Regions from separate parts of the Homo sapiens genome. Here regions 1 and 2 are each linked to region 3. The links are contacts of gene promoters, found by promoter capture Hi-C in human tissues and cell types (Jung and others, 2019). All regions are on one chromosome and are shown on one strand. The core of a region is centred on a gene start or on the middle of the fragment in contact, and the rest is flanking DNA. Distances in the headings are between cores, read along the strand shown.

Region 1 (3,921 bases), core at 1,368-3,867, 1.2 Mb after region 3:
CCCTTATGCATAGACTGAAAATAATGCTATGCTGGCATTTTAAAATTAGCATTAGAAAAGTAAAAGCAAATGTTATCATTAACATAAATTTGAAAAATCTTTACCTTTTCATCCCAAAATGGTACTTTCTGGTATCAAAGAAAACATTTACTTTTAATTCATTTCAGACCAATATTTATTCTTCTTTTTGGCAACGAGTGTTTCAACATCTTGAAAATGCATTTAAGCTTACTCCTTTCATCAGCTCTAAAATGGGGTTATGCATAATCCACTAAATGCAAATAATTTTTGGAAGCATTGCTTAGTGGACTTCTAGGCTGTGTAACATATTCAATTAAGAATAAGAGACTTTTAAATAATCTTTAGGGAAAACTACCAGCCAAACAACACAATGTTCACGGTAAGAAAATTATCTTTGGGATTTAGAATTTCAAATCAAAATAAATCACCAACTATTCAAAAAGAATGATTTTCTGTATCAAATAGAAATGTTAATGTTGTGAAAAGCTTGTGCCTAACTATAAATCATTTAAAGATAATCCCAGGATATTTAATTTGATCTAAGCCATAACTTAAAATTCTCAGAGCCAACTGAGAACTATCTTCACAATCTATTTTGAATTTAGAAAAACTGAAGCACAAAAATCACATGAAGATTTGATAAGGACTCTAGTGTCCTGAACTCCTGTCACCTGGCCAAACGCAGTTCATCCATCTAAAAAGCCAACTGCTCTGTGTTTGAAGGGGGCAAAACTACCCTCAATTTGACTGCAGGATATGGCTCTCTCTTCAAATATTGATTGAAAGGTTTTTGGCTAAGTACAAGGACTATTTTTCCCTGGAGAAACTGCAGCTGTGACAGTTGACCTCAGCCTTTTAAGACGAAAAGATTCTCTCTGGGAAAATGACTTACTGATTATCAGAGTTAGCCAGAATAAAAGAGCTCAATCTTCAGAGCTCTTTCATTAAACAACTCTCTTTCAATATTCTTAAAATATCATGGAGTATCATCATGTTGCACAACACCAGAGGATAACATAAAGAATACAATATGAGTATGCCCCCTGGAGTTTTGAAACACAGCGCTGGTAACACTATCATCAGTAAAGCTTTCCTGCTGCCTTTTGTTAAGTTATTGACTATGGAATCCTGAATGAATTTCTTTCTTTTTTTTTTTTTTTTTTTTGGGACAGAGCCTTGCTCTGTCGCCCAGGCTGGAGTGCAGTGGCGCAATCTCGGCTCACTGTAAGCTCCGCCTCCTGGGTTCATGCCATTCTTCTGCCTCAGCCTCCTGAGTAGCTGGGACTACAGGCGCCCGTCACTGCGCCCAGCTAATTTTTGGTAGTTTTAGTAGAGACGGGGTTTCATCGTGTTAGCCAGGATGGTCTCGATCTCCTGACCTCGTGATCTGCCCGCCTCAGCCTCCCAAAGTGCTGGGATTACAGGCTTGAGTCACTGCGCCTGGCCTGCCTGATTGAATTTCTTACAGGCTACTTATTATAGATATGATGCTCAAATCAGATCAACTTACGAGGTTATAGATCTTGCCAGACTAATGAAGATCTGCATCATTTATAACCTAACACCACTTATTTCTTTCCTTTTAAAAGAGGTTTTGCTTGCTCAAGGCCCAGGCAGAGAGGAACTACTTAACTTGTACTGAAACCAAAACAACTGATCATCCACAGTAAACAGTATGATGTCATCCACGGTAAACAGTATGATGTGGCAGAAAGACCACTGCAATCAGGAGATCTATCATTTGTTAATTATATACTCCAGATCACTCATCTGGAGTATACAGACAATACCAAGATTAGGGACAATAATATGTCTTAATAATTCCATAGAATTATGCTAATCAAGTAATAAAAAACCAAACTACTCATAAGCTGAAGCATAGTATTCACAAATGATTTTGCAAGTGGGCAAACTTAGAAAATACTTCTCAATATTAACTGAACAGGCTGGGCACAGTGGCTCACACCTGTAATCCAAGCACTTTGGGAGGCCAAGGCAGGCAGATCACCTGAGGTCAGGAGTTTGAGATCAGCTTGGCCAACATGGTGAAACCCCATCTCTACTAAAAACACAAAAAATTAGCCAGTCATGGTGGCACATGCCTGTAATCTCAGTTACTTGGGAGGCTGAGGCAAGAGAATCACTTGAACCTGGGAGGCGGAGGTTTCAGTGAGCGGAGATCATGCCATTGCACTCCAGCCTGGGCAACAGAGTGAGACTCTGTTTCAAAAAAAAAAAAAAAAATTAACTGAACAAGGAGCAATATTCAATAAATTATTTGGAACAGAATTTCTAAGGGACTAGGAACCCTGTTATAAGGACCCTATTTAGTATATCTTTTATAGATGGTCACATTTTTATGTAAAATTAGCTCGAATACAAACTATAAAACATCCTATATAAGCTCTTATTTTACAAAGTAAAATGTGTCTTTGCCTGCCAATTGTTTCACTTGAGTACATGCTTTTCAGCACTTTACAGATTTAATACATCTATAGTTCCAGGAAATGAGCATTTATTTCTATATAATCAAATGCTAAGAGATAAGTTTCTGGTTCTGTTTTTGAACTTTATAATCATTAAATAAAACAAAAAAAAAAATCTCTTTTGGTACCATAGGTACAAAGTCATTGAATAAAACCCCCAAAACAAAAATCCATTTGTTCTGGGTTTAAAACCAATCATTGCATCAGATCTCAGAGAAACTTGTTTTTAAAACTAACCTGAAGCAAACACACCTAACCTGATAAATGCAACCTCCTAAGGGACAAAGGAATGTAATAACTTTAGTTTTAGATAAAGGTAGAAGTAAAAATTATGCTTCAGAGAATCCTATATAAAATATTTTAAGTTATTTACTAATGGTAATGGTAAAAAAATGTTGGCAGGTCTTATAAAAGTACTATCTATAACATTTTCATTCCGACAATGTCTTAAAATAGTCAAAGAAAAAGAACAATGGGAAGGAAAAGAAAATATTTAATATAGAATTCTACCAAAATCTACCAATGATATTTGAATCCAACCAAGACCAGAAACACTTGAACCAAGAAGTTAGTCACAATGCCCCTGGTAGCTGAGTAAAATGGTGCTTAAACTGTTACTAATTTTTTTAGCCTTGTAGATTTTCACTCCAAAAATTCTAATTCTACTATATAAGATGTGTGGGACCATCACATAGTGTGTTCATTATAATCTAATTTCATAAAAATCAATGCTCCTAAAGCTATCATCTTGCTGACCCCAGATTCTTACTAACTGTTCATAGATTTAAAGTTCAGATTATTCTAAGTATTAAATCAGTAAAATCTAAATTCAATCCATCTGACTGCTGTTCTTGCAGTAAATACACACTCCAGAGGATACCCTCCCGCCACCACCCCCTGCCATGTTCAGTAGTAGAGCTGCTCTGTTCTATAAATACTGTTGCTTCTGGATGACTTTCAGGGAAAGGCCAAAAGAAAATAAATTTTAGCAGTCTATCCAAGAGGCAAGGAGGCATGGATAACAACCAAGACAGACTCTGTGCTTTCTGAGCTCTCATTCCAAGAAAAAGAATGATGCGGGGGGTGGGGAGACTTTTTAAATAAAAGCCAGTTATTTTATGAGACAGGACAAGGGAATCAAGAATTATGCATTACATCAGAATCCTTAAAAAATTAGAGATAATCATGGAGCTGTACTGAAATGAATATTCCCATGATCAAATTGAATTAAAAACTAAAAAACTGAATAACAGCTCACTATTCCTCTTTAGTATTCGGCATACACAGGATGCTGTTACAAATAAGTGACTGAAACAGAATTAACTTAATATTTTTGGAGGTGGGAGGAGTCTCAAGTGGAGCTTCCATATTAATCTTAAAAGAGCATTCTTTATCCTGAGCTAGAATAAATCAT
Region 2 (4,227 bases), core at 1,513-4,012, 1.7 Mb before region 3:
CTGAAAGTGATTTGACTAAATAGCAAGGACTGGTAAATTACCTACTAGTGCCAAGGTTGCAGTTGACATACCTCCTCCCCTCCATAATTTAAACGAGCTCAGTTGTAGCGCGGTAGTGCCCTTCAGATTTCGGTTATTCTTCAGAAGGAAGAATAGTTTGTAGCCATAATGCTTTTCCCCCTCCTGGGATAGGAATTTTCTTCCTCCATTTTCATGTTATTTCAAACTTCTCTGTTCAGTAGAGGAGCTTCAGATTAAGGGCAGGGTGACTCTTCTATAGGAGACATCCATTGCATGACACATATTACATCTTTCATCACTGAGGAAAATTTCGGTGAAAGTAGAAACATTTTCCCTTTTGGTTATGATGGGACTGGTATTTTCTCTGTTTCTGCAGTAACCTAGCACAGGGTATAGTAGAAACAATTAATTATAGTAGTGGCTTGTGGCCATATATTATAGTCTCAGGGTAGGAGGGTGGTCTCCGCCCTAGTTGAACTTCTAAGGCCAAAGAGAATTTTCACCACAAACACATTTGGCTGTGGTAATGTTAGAGGTTTTAAACAAATATGTAAAGATTATCTGATCATTAATAGAACAATTTTTAGATTTTGTGATGTTTGAATATATTTGCATTTGGAATCAAACCAGAATGCAGCATGATCCTTGTAGGCATGTGGCTATTAAAATACACTGAAGATTTTTCCAGAAACAAAATTTTTTTTTCTCAGCAATAAAAATATTCAAATTTTGGGTAAGGTAATGTTTGATTATTTGGATTTTGACCTTTGTGTTATATATTTGTACCTGTGTGTGTGTATGTATGTAACCTCACTTCTAATTTAGTGTTATTGATGGTAATATTTTTTCCTTTCTTTATCAGCTTCAAATAGGGACTGTTAATTTCAGAGCGTTTAAGGAATGGCAAAACACATTTAGTGCTGGTGTGAGTCTGTAGTGTGTTTGGTTTGCTGACTATCAGACTTATTACAGATAAGTCCACAGTTATAAGCTTTGTAGAGCTTAAGTTGCATCAGTGTTCTTTACCCTTGCTACTCAAATTGTGGTATATAGCATCACCTGGGAGTTTATTAGAAATGCATGATCTCAGGCTCAATCCAGAGCTGCTGAATCAAAATCTGCAATTTTAACAAGTTATCTAGATGAAAGGAATGTTCAATAAATCTTGAGATGCACTACTTTGGTTGGTAACAGTTGAAGAACACTGAGGTAATGCACAAACCGGTATAAAAATTTATAGCATCATTTATTTTAATCTGAGGTGATCTTATGCTGATTATCCAGTCTGATGAAACTGAGGCCCAGAAAGGTAAGTGCCTTGCATAAGGTCACACATACCTAGATTTATAACCCAGATTCCAACTCATTCCAGTGCTTTTCTTTTGCTGGTTACTGTCAGAGCTTGTTATATTAAAAACGGACTAAAATTCATGAATGACAATTAGGTGTTCATTCAATAACAAACGTCTATTGGGTACTGTACAGGCAGCCTAACAATCCTGTGTGTCCCTGCTAACTGCTCCTGTTTATCATGGTGGCTATTAACCCACCACCTTTCCTCTTTATTTTTTTTGAGGCGGGGTCTCACTGTCACCTAGGCTGGAGTGCAGTGGCGTGATCTCTGCTCACTGCATCTTCCGCCTCCCGGGTTCAAGCGGTTCTCCTGCCTCAGCCTCCAGAGTAGCTAGGATTACAGGTGCCTGCCACCAAGCCTGGCTAATTTTTGTATTTTTAGTAGACAGGGTTTCACCATTTTGGCCAGACTGGTCTTGAACTCCTGACCTCCCTGAACTCCACCCACCTTGGCCTCCCAAAGTGCTGGGATTACAGGAGTGAGCCCGGCCCCGTCTTTACTTTTTTTTTTTTTTTTTTTTTGAGATGGAGTTCTGCTCTTTTTGCCCAGGCTGGAGTGCAGTGGCGCGATCTCAATTCACTGCAACCTCCGCCTCCTGGGTTCAAGTGATTCTCCTGCCTCAGCCTCCTGAGTAGCTGGGATTACCGGCATGCACCGCCATGCCCAGCTAATTTTGTATTTTTAGTAGAGACGGGGTTTCTCCATGTTTGTCAGGCTGGTCTCGAACTCTCGACCTCAGGTGATCCCCCTGCCTCAGCCTCCCAAAGTGCTGGGATTACAGGCTTGAGCCACCACGCCCGGCCCCCTCTTTACTCTTTACTGGATAAAGTTCCCTTCTGCTTCATAGAGGAAATGAAATACATTGAGTGGGAACTTCATTGCTTTCTGTTCTGTTTCACCTGCAAACATGAAGACCTCTATCTGTCCATCTCTAATGATATTCTGAGTTTTTTCTCCTTACGGGCAATATTTCCTTCATGTGTTTGCTAGGGCCGCCACAACAAAATACCTTATATTGGGTAGCTTAAACAAGAGAATTTTTTTTCTCACAGTTCTGGAGAGTGGAAGTCTAAGATCAAGGTGCAGATAAGATTGGTTTCCTGTAAGACCTCCATCCTTGGCTTGCAGATGGCCACCTTCTTGCTGCCTTTTCTCGTGGTCATCCTGTGTGTACATGCACCTCTGCTGTATCTTTCTGTTTTCTTTTTTTTTCTTTTCTTTTTTTTTTTTTTTTTGAGACGGAGCCTCGCTCTTGTCTCCCAGGCTGGAGTGCAGTGGCCCGCTCTCAGGTCACTGCAACCTCCGCCTTCCCGGTTCAAGCGATTCTCCTGCCTCAGCCTCCTGAGTAGTTGGGATTACAGGCGCTCACCACCACGCCCGGCTAATTTTTATATTTTTAGTAGAGACGGGTTTCACCATGTTGTCCAGGCTGGTCTCAAACTCCTGACCTCAGGTGATCTGCCCGCCTCAGCCTCCCAAAGTGCTGGGATTACAGGCGTGAGCCACTGCACTGGCCTGCTGTTTCTTTTTCTTATAATGGCATCAGTTATATTGGTTTAGGGCCTTACCCTAACAACCTCATCTTATCTTAATCACCTTAAAAACTTTATCTCCAAATACTGAGGGTTCGGGGGTTAGGGCTTCAACATGAATTTTTAAGGAACACAGTTCAATCCATAACATTCAGTTACTCCTTTTTCAACTAGTACTAACTTAACAAGGATTTAAGCATACCCAAGTCTCTTATTATCTTTTTTTTTTTTTATTTTTTTTTTTTGAGACAGAGTACTCACTCTGTTTCTCAGGCTTGAGTGCAGTGGTGCTATCTTGGCTCACTGCAACTTCTGCCTCCCAGGCTCAAGCGATCCCTCCACCTCAGCCTCTCTGGTGGCTGGGACCACAGGTGAGGCGCAGGCCACCATGCTTGGCTAATTTTTGAATTTTTTTTTGTAGAGATGGGGTTTTGCCACATTGCCCAGGCTTGTCTCAAACTCCTGGGTTCAAGCGATCCACTGGCCTTGGCCTCCTGAAGTGTATTGGAATTATATGGGTGAGCCACCGTGCCTGGCCTCAAATCAAGTCTTATCTGAAATATACGCTCCTTACCTTAGATTCTTAGATTCCTCTTCAGCTTTATCTATAATTATTTTTCTTAGTTTTTTTTTTTCTCCTTTTTTTAAGAGACAAGGTCTCTTGTTACCTAGGCTGGCCTCAAACTTCAGGGCTCAAGTGATCCTGCCACTTCAATCTCATGAGTAGCTGGTACTACTTGTGTGTGCCACCATGCCCAGCTTATTTCCTTTAAGTTTCTTGAAAGAATTCTCTATATTCATTTTCTTCACCTCCTTATTGGTTAATTTTTTTTTTTTTTTTTTTTTTTTTTGGTATTTTGAAGGCTGACAGTCCATAGCAGTCACTGAATTTGATGTAGTGGTGATCACCATTGATATCTTTGTTGCTAAATCTAATGGAATCTGTTTAATCATTTGCCATTTTAACTACTTGTTCGTTCTTGAAATTTTCTTCTTATACTTCTGGGACACCATATTTTCCTTATTTCCTTCTTAGGTTTTAGCCAGTCTTTTGTTGGTTATTTTTCTCTTTTCTCTGACCACTTTAGATGTTTGACTCTGAGGCACTACCCTGCTCTCTTCTGAAAACCTTCAGATAAAAATCCAAACTACGTAGTTTAGGAAATAAGGACTTCAATGCACACTCTTCATGAATGGTCTCATTTGTGACTTCAACTATTGCCTCTATTTTGATGACTCCCAAATCTGGCTTTTTAGCACAGGTCTCTCTTCAACGCTGACATATGTAGTTGTCTTAAAATACTTGACATTCATGTCAAA
Region 3 (4,083 bases), core at 272-2,771:
GTTAAGATCTCTCTGACTCATGTGGTTTGAAATTTCACAACTTGGTTATAGAAAATTTTTATCCATTAAACTGAGAGCTCATGTGCTTCTGTCCTTTAGCTCTGAGAACTGTTGTCCTCGTTTTCTTTGGTAATTATCTTTCTTCTCTTTGTTCTACTAGCTGTTAGATATTCCACCTTTCCTTGCCTAACTGCCCTGGCTAGTGCCTCCACTATAATGTTGAATAGAAGTAGCAACAATTGACATCCTTGTCTTATTCCTGATTTTAGGTGAAAATGTTCATTCTTTCAAGATTAAGTATGATGTTAATTATGGATTTTTCAGAGGCTCTTTATTAGGTTGAAGAAGTTTCCTTTTATTCCTAGTTGAAGTGTTTATATCAAGAAAGGGTGTTAGATTTTGTCAATTGCTTTTCCTTCATCTTTTGAGATGATCATGTGGTTTTTACATTTAGTCTATTTAAAGTAGTGTGTTACATTAATTTTGTATGTCACACCAAACTTGCATTCCTGAGATAAATCCTACTTGGTCATGTTGTATAATTTTTTAAAATGTTGCTGGGTTTGGCTTGCTAGTATTTTGTTGAGGATTTTTATGTTACTATGCATAAGGTATATTGGTCTGTAGTTTTCTCGTGATGTCTTTCATTTTGTTCTTTATTTCCTTGTATTTCCAGATGGGAAGTCACTGCATACAGCCCTAATCTTAGGACAAGTTTCCAAGTAAGCCACTTCAGGCAAATAAAAATTTCTGTATCTAGCAGAGAAACAAAGCTGTATATTTTTTTTGAGGTTCCCTCCTAGCTCCCTTCCCTCTCCTCAAGCCAACTAATAAAACTTGCTTTTTATATTCCGAATCTTATTTATAGTCGTTTGATCATCTATGAGGCACCTGCAAGTCAACATTTACTGCACGCGGCCCCCTCACTCCCTAAATAAGCACTTTTGATTTACCGCCAGTCATCAACTCACCTCCCAACTGCAATTTGTCAAGAGTAGTGTCAGGTGCACTTTAGTGGTTAATCTCCTTGCACATCGGTGGAACTTTAGGCACAAGAAGGTAAGCAACGAAGATAGTGATATACGAAGGGAAAACTAAACCCAGGTAGCGTTGCCAGCTTAAAAGTCCTAGGCATGGGGATGGGTGGATGGGACGCCGGCCTAAGATTTTAGCAGGGAACAGACCCAGTAGTTGGCTTGGATCTCTTAACTCCAGAAAAGGCCGAGTGAGGACAAGGGAGACCACAGGGATAATTTCTGTGGCTCTGGTAAGGGGATGACAAGGGAGAAAAACTTTCCCACGGTTCCGTCTGGCCCGCGGCGCTTGTCTGCCTGCGCGGGGTCAAAGCCCGGCGCCGCCCACGCGCGGCTCGGGTGGGAACCCGCAGACGTGGGGCGAGCAGGGCCGCTGGCTGTGGCGGGCGAGCGCCGGGGCGCCACGTCCGAGGCCGCGGGGTCGGGGCTGCAGGCACAGCTCGAGCGCTTTCCGCGGGGTTTGGCTCCTGTCGCTTCCCGTCTCGCCGAACCGGCATCGCCGCCGCCGGAGCCGCAGCGAGTCCTCAGAGCCTGGCTGCTGGCGGCCGGGAGCGCCGGGACGGGGCGCGAAGCCGGAGGCTCCGGGACGTGGATACAGGTAAAGGCCGGCGGGTCGGAGTCGGGCGGGGCGCGGCGGCGGCGCCTCTCGGAGGGACCTGGCCTCGGCCGGGCCCTACCCAGCCGCGGTGGCCCGGGCCCCCACGTTGGCCCAGGCGGGGACGTGCCAAGGGGCTGGGCTAGGGTTGCCGCTGGCCTGGCCGCCTCTCGCCCGGCGGGCCTCAGGTGACGCGGCCGCGGCTTAACTTTCGCACCTGAGGCTCTCGGAGCGGCCTCGGGGCGCGCCCACCTGGAGGTTGGAATTACACAGGGTCGAAAAAGCTGAGTCCTGGAGGCGAGGCGCTGTAGGTGTGGCGGAGGAGGCCGGGGAAGGTGGGGTGGGTGCCAGGGGTCCAGTACTGAACCCTCTCCAGGTCTGAGGTGGGGAACTGCGTCTTGTTTAATTTCGGAGCTTGTGGGGACCACACAGCCCCTTCCACGGCCGATTCCCTCTGCACGGTTCCACTTTCCTTTGTCTAGCCCATTTCAGTATCGGCGTCGCAGTCGCTTTTGTTGCAGCCTTGGGTCCGGAGTGTACGACTTTCTGCTAGGCAGAGGTCATAAGCTCTGAAATCCATCGGGCGGAGGTGGGGAGATGGTCCTTTGGTGGGAAATTACTAGTGCTGTTATGAACACTAACACATATATTCCACCTTGTTTTTTTTCGAGATAGTGCTCATTATTTTCGTAGCATCTAACAGTTGTAAGTGTATCTGTGAGAGCATTCATTAGTTAACTTCAAAGGAGCATTATGCGGTCGGGTTACTATTATCCCATTTTATAGACCAGACAGCTGAGGCACCCAAGAGGCAAAGTGATTATATCAAAACTAAGCAGTCAATCCTTGTGGAATCTGTGATTAGAACTTGTCTGACTAGAGTTGTCCTTGGTCCAGTTGGTCTCTTAGTCTCAAACAAAATTTAGCTCTCAAAGATGGACGGTCTGATGCTCATTGTATTTTTATATACTCATTAATTGTTAAAACCTTTCTTAAAAAATAGAGTCAATTCCTTTCAGACTCCTGTTATAGTACCCCTAAAAGTGATACTTGAAAGATCATAAACACTTCAGTTTCAAATGAGTGGTATCATTTGAGTCGTAGAAAGAAGTAAAATTCCGTTGTCTTTTATCTGTCAGACTTTCGTCTCTTGTATAAATGTAGTGCCACTGGCAGCCCAAAGATACTTTGGTGACAATGGCAGAAACTCTAAATATTTATTTAATAAGTAGAATCGAGGAGGCGAGCTGTTAGGTTTCCCGGAATATTTGAGTAAGTTTTTTCTCATAAAGAATCAAAAATTTAGGAGAATAGTCATTTTAATTATTGTAATGAAAAATTATCTCGTAATTGTGTACGTGTTATGTTGTACTTTATCTCTCTGGAACCATCAACAATTTACCAGTTTCCCTAGGGTTTGCTCTTAGTTTTGTCAATGGTATTTTATTACCCCATTTTTCTTCCTCTCTTTCATTTTTTGTGTGTTTGGTTTTTCAAAGTGAAGATTTTTTCTTCGAAAATTCAAAAAATAATATTGAAAAAATCAACAAGATTTCTTTCTTGATAAAATAGACTTAATTAGCACTTTTTTGAGTGTGTCTGAGGACCGACACCAGCCTCTTTAATAAGCACCTCATACATGAAGCAGGAATTCTTCCAGGCAAGAATGCAATAAATTAATCATTTTAATATATTTCTGTAATATGACATAGCTACCTGAATGATAATGCTTTTTACTCTTACAATGTCTTTTTCATTAAGGAGCATAAAGATTAAAAATTTCGCTTAAATTTTGCTAACTACATAGTACAAGGGGACAGTGTGCTTAGACTTAATTGTTGCTTTCATGGAATAAACACAGTTCTCTCTCCCTTATACCACCTCCATTTGGCCATCTGAAAAAAGAATGGTGATGTGTCCTTTCCTTCATAGGGATATTTGGGGAATTAATGAAGTAATATCTCGAAAGTAGTTTGAACTCCACGGAAGAAAGCAGCTTTGTAACTTTGAAATGTGATTGCAGAGTCTTGAAACATTTTCCCTCCTTAAACGTGCTGTCGTTTATATTTTTAGAGAGTGGTCATTCCAAGTAGTCACCTCAGGAGGCTAAAAACTTATTCCAGTAGTGCTGCTGCCATTCATAATTATTTTGTATTTTTTGAAATTTCTAGTCAATTTACAAGCAAAATAAAAACATTTCATGATAACATTCATAAACACTTGTTTTTGTTTCTATTTTTTAATCAAAAAACTAATTCAGCTTGAGTACCTATTTTCTTTGCTAAATTTGGCAGAATGATTTCTACATGGTTGTAAAACTCAGTTCTACCTTCAAGATTTTACCACTATTAAGGATATTTAAAGGATTGTCCTGATGGCTACGAAGGCAGTTTTAAAAGGGCAGTTTAAAAATAGTTTAAAATAATGACAGACATTGTTAGAATTTGCAACCTT

What was found. The method cuts DNA at HindIII sites, captures the fragments that hold promoters and counts their contacts. A contact is called where the count stands out against the background at its distance.
Region 1: a contact is called between a fragment that was not itself captured here and the fragment with the promoter of RNF180 in region 3, in 1 of the 25 tissues and cell types used here (hippocampus).
Region 2: a fragment that was not itself captured here is called in contact with the fragment with the promoter of RNF180 in region 3 in 1 of the 25 tissues and cell types used here (dorsolateral prefrontal cortex).

The regions. Positions count from the first base shown.
Region 1 is chr5:65,363,399-65,367,319 of GRCh38, forward strand. All of the region lies in intron 7 of ADAMTS6 (ADAM metallopeptidase with thrombospondin type 1 motif 6), which reads right to left. Among named protein-coding and RNA genes, the nearest start is that of ADAMTS6, 120 kb to the right of the region's middle. The HindIII fragment of the contact is 4,500 bases long and covers 368-3,921 here.
Region 2 is chr5:62,413,590-62,417,816 of GRCh38, forward strand. The region is part of intron 1 of IPO11 (importin 11); the gene reads left to right. Among named protein-coding and RNA genes, the nearest start is that of IPO11, 2.9 kb to the left of the region's middle. The HindIII fragment of the contact is 5,612 bases long and covers 1-4,227 here.
Region 3 is chr5:64,164,322-64,168,404 of GRCh38, forward strand. RNF180 (ring finger protein 180) reads left to right here and starts at 1,522. Exons shown (of 8, transcript NM_001113561.2): 1 at 1,522-1,632. The HindIII fragment of the contact is 11,374 bases long and covers 1-4,083 here.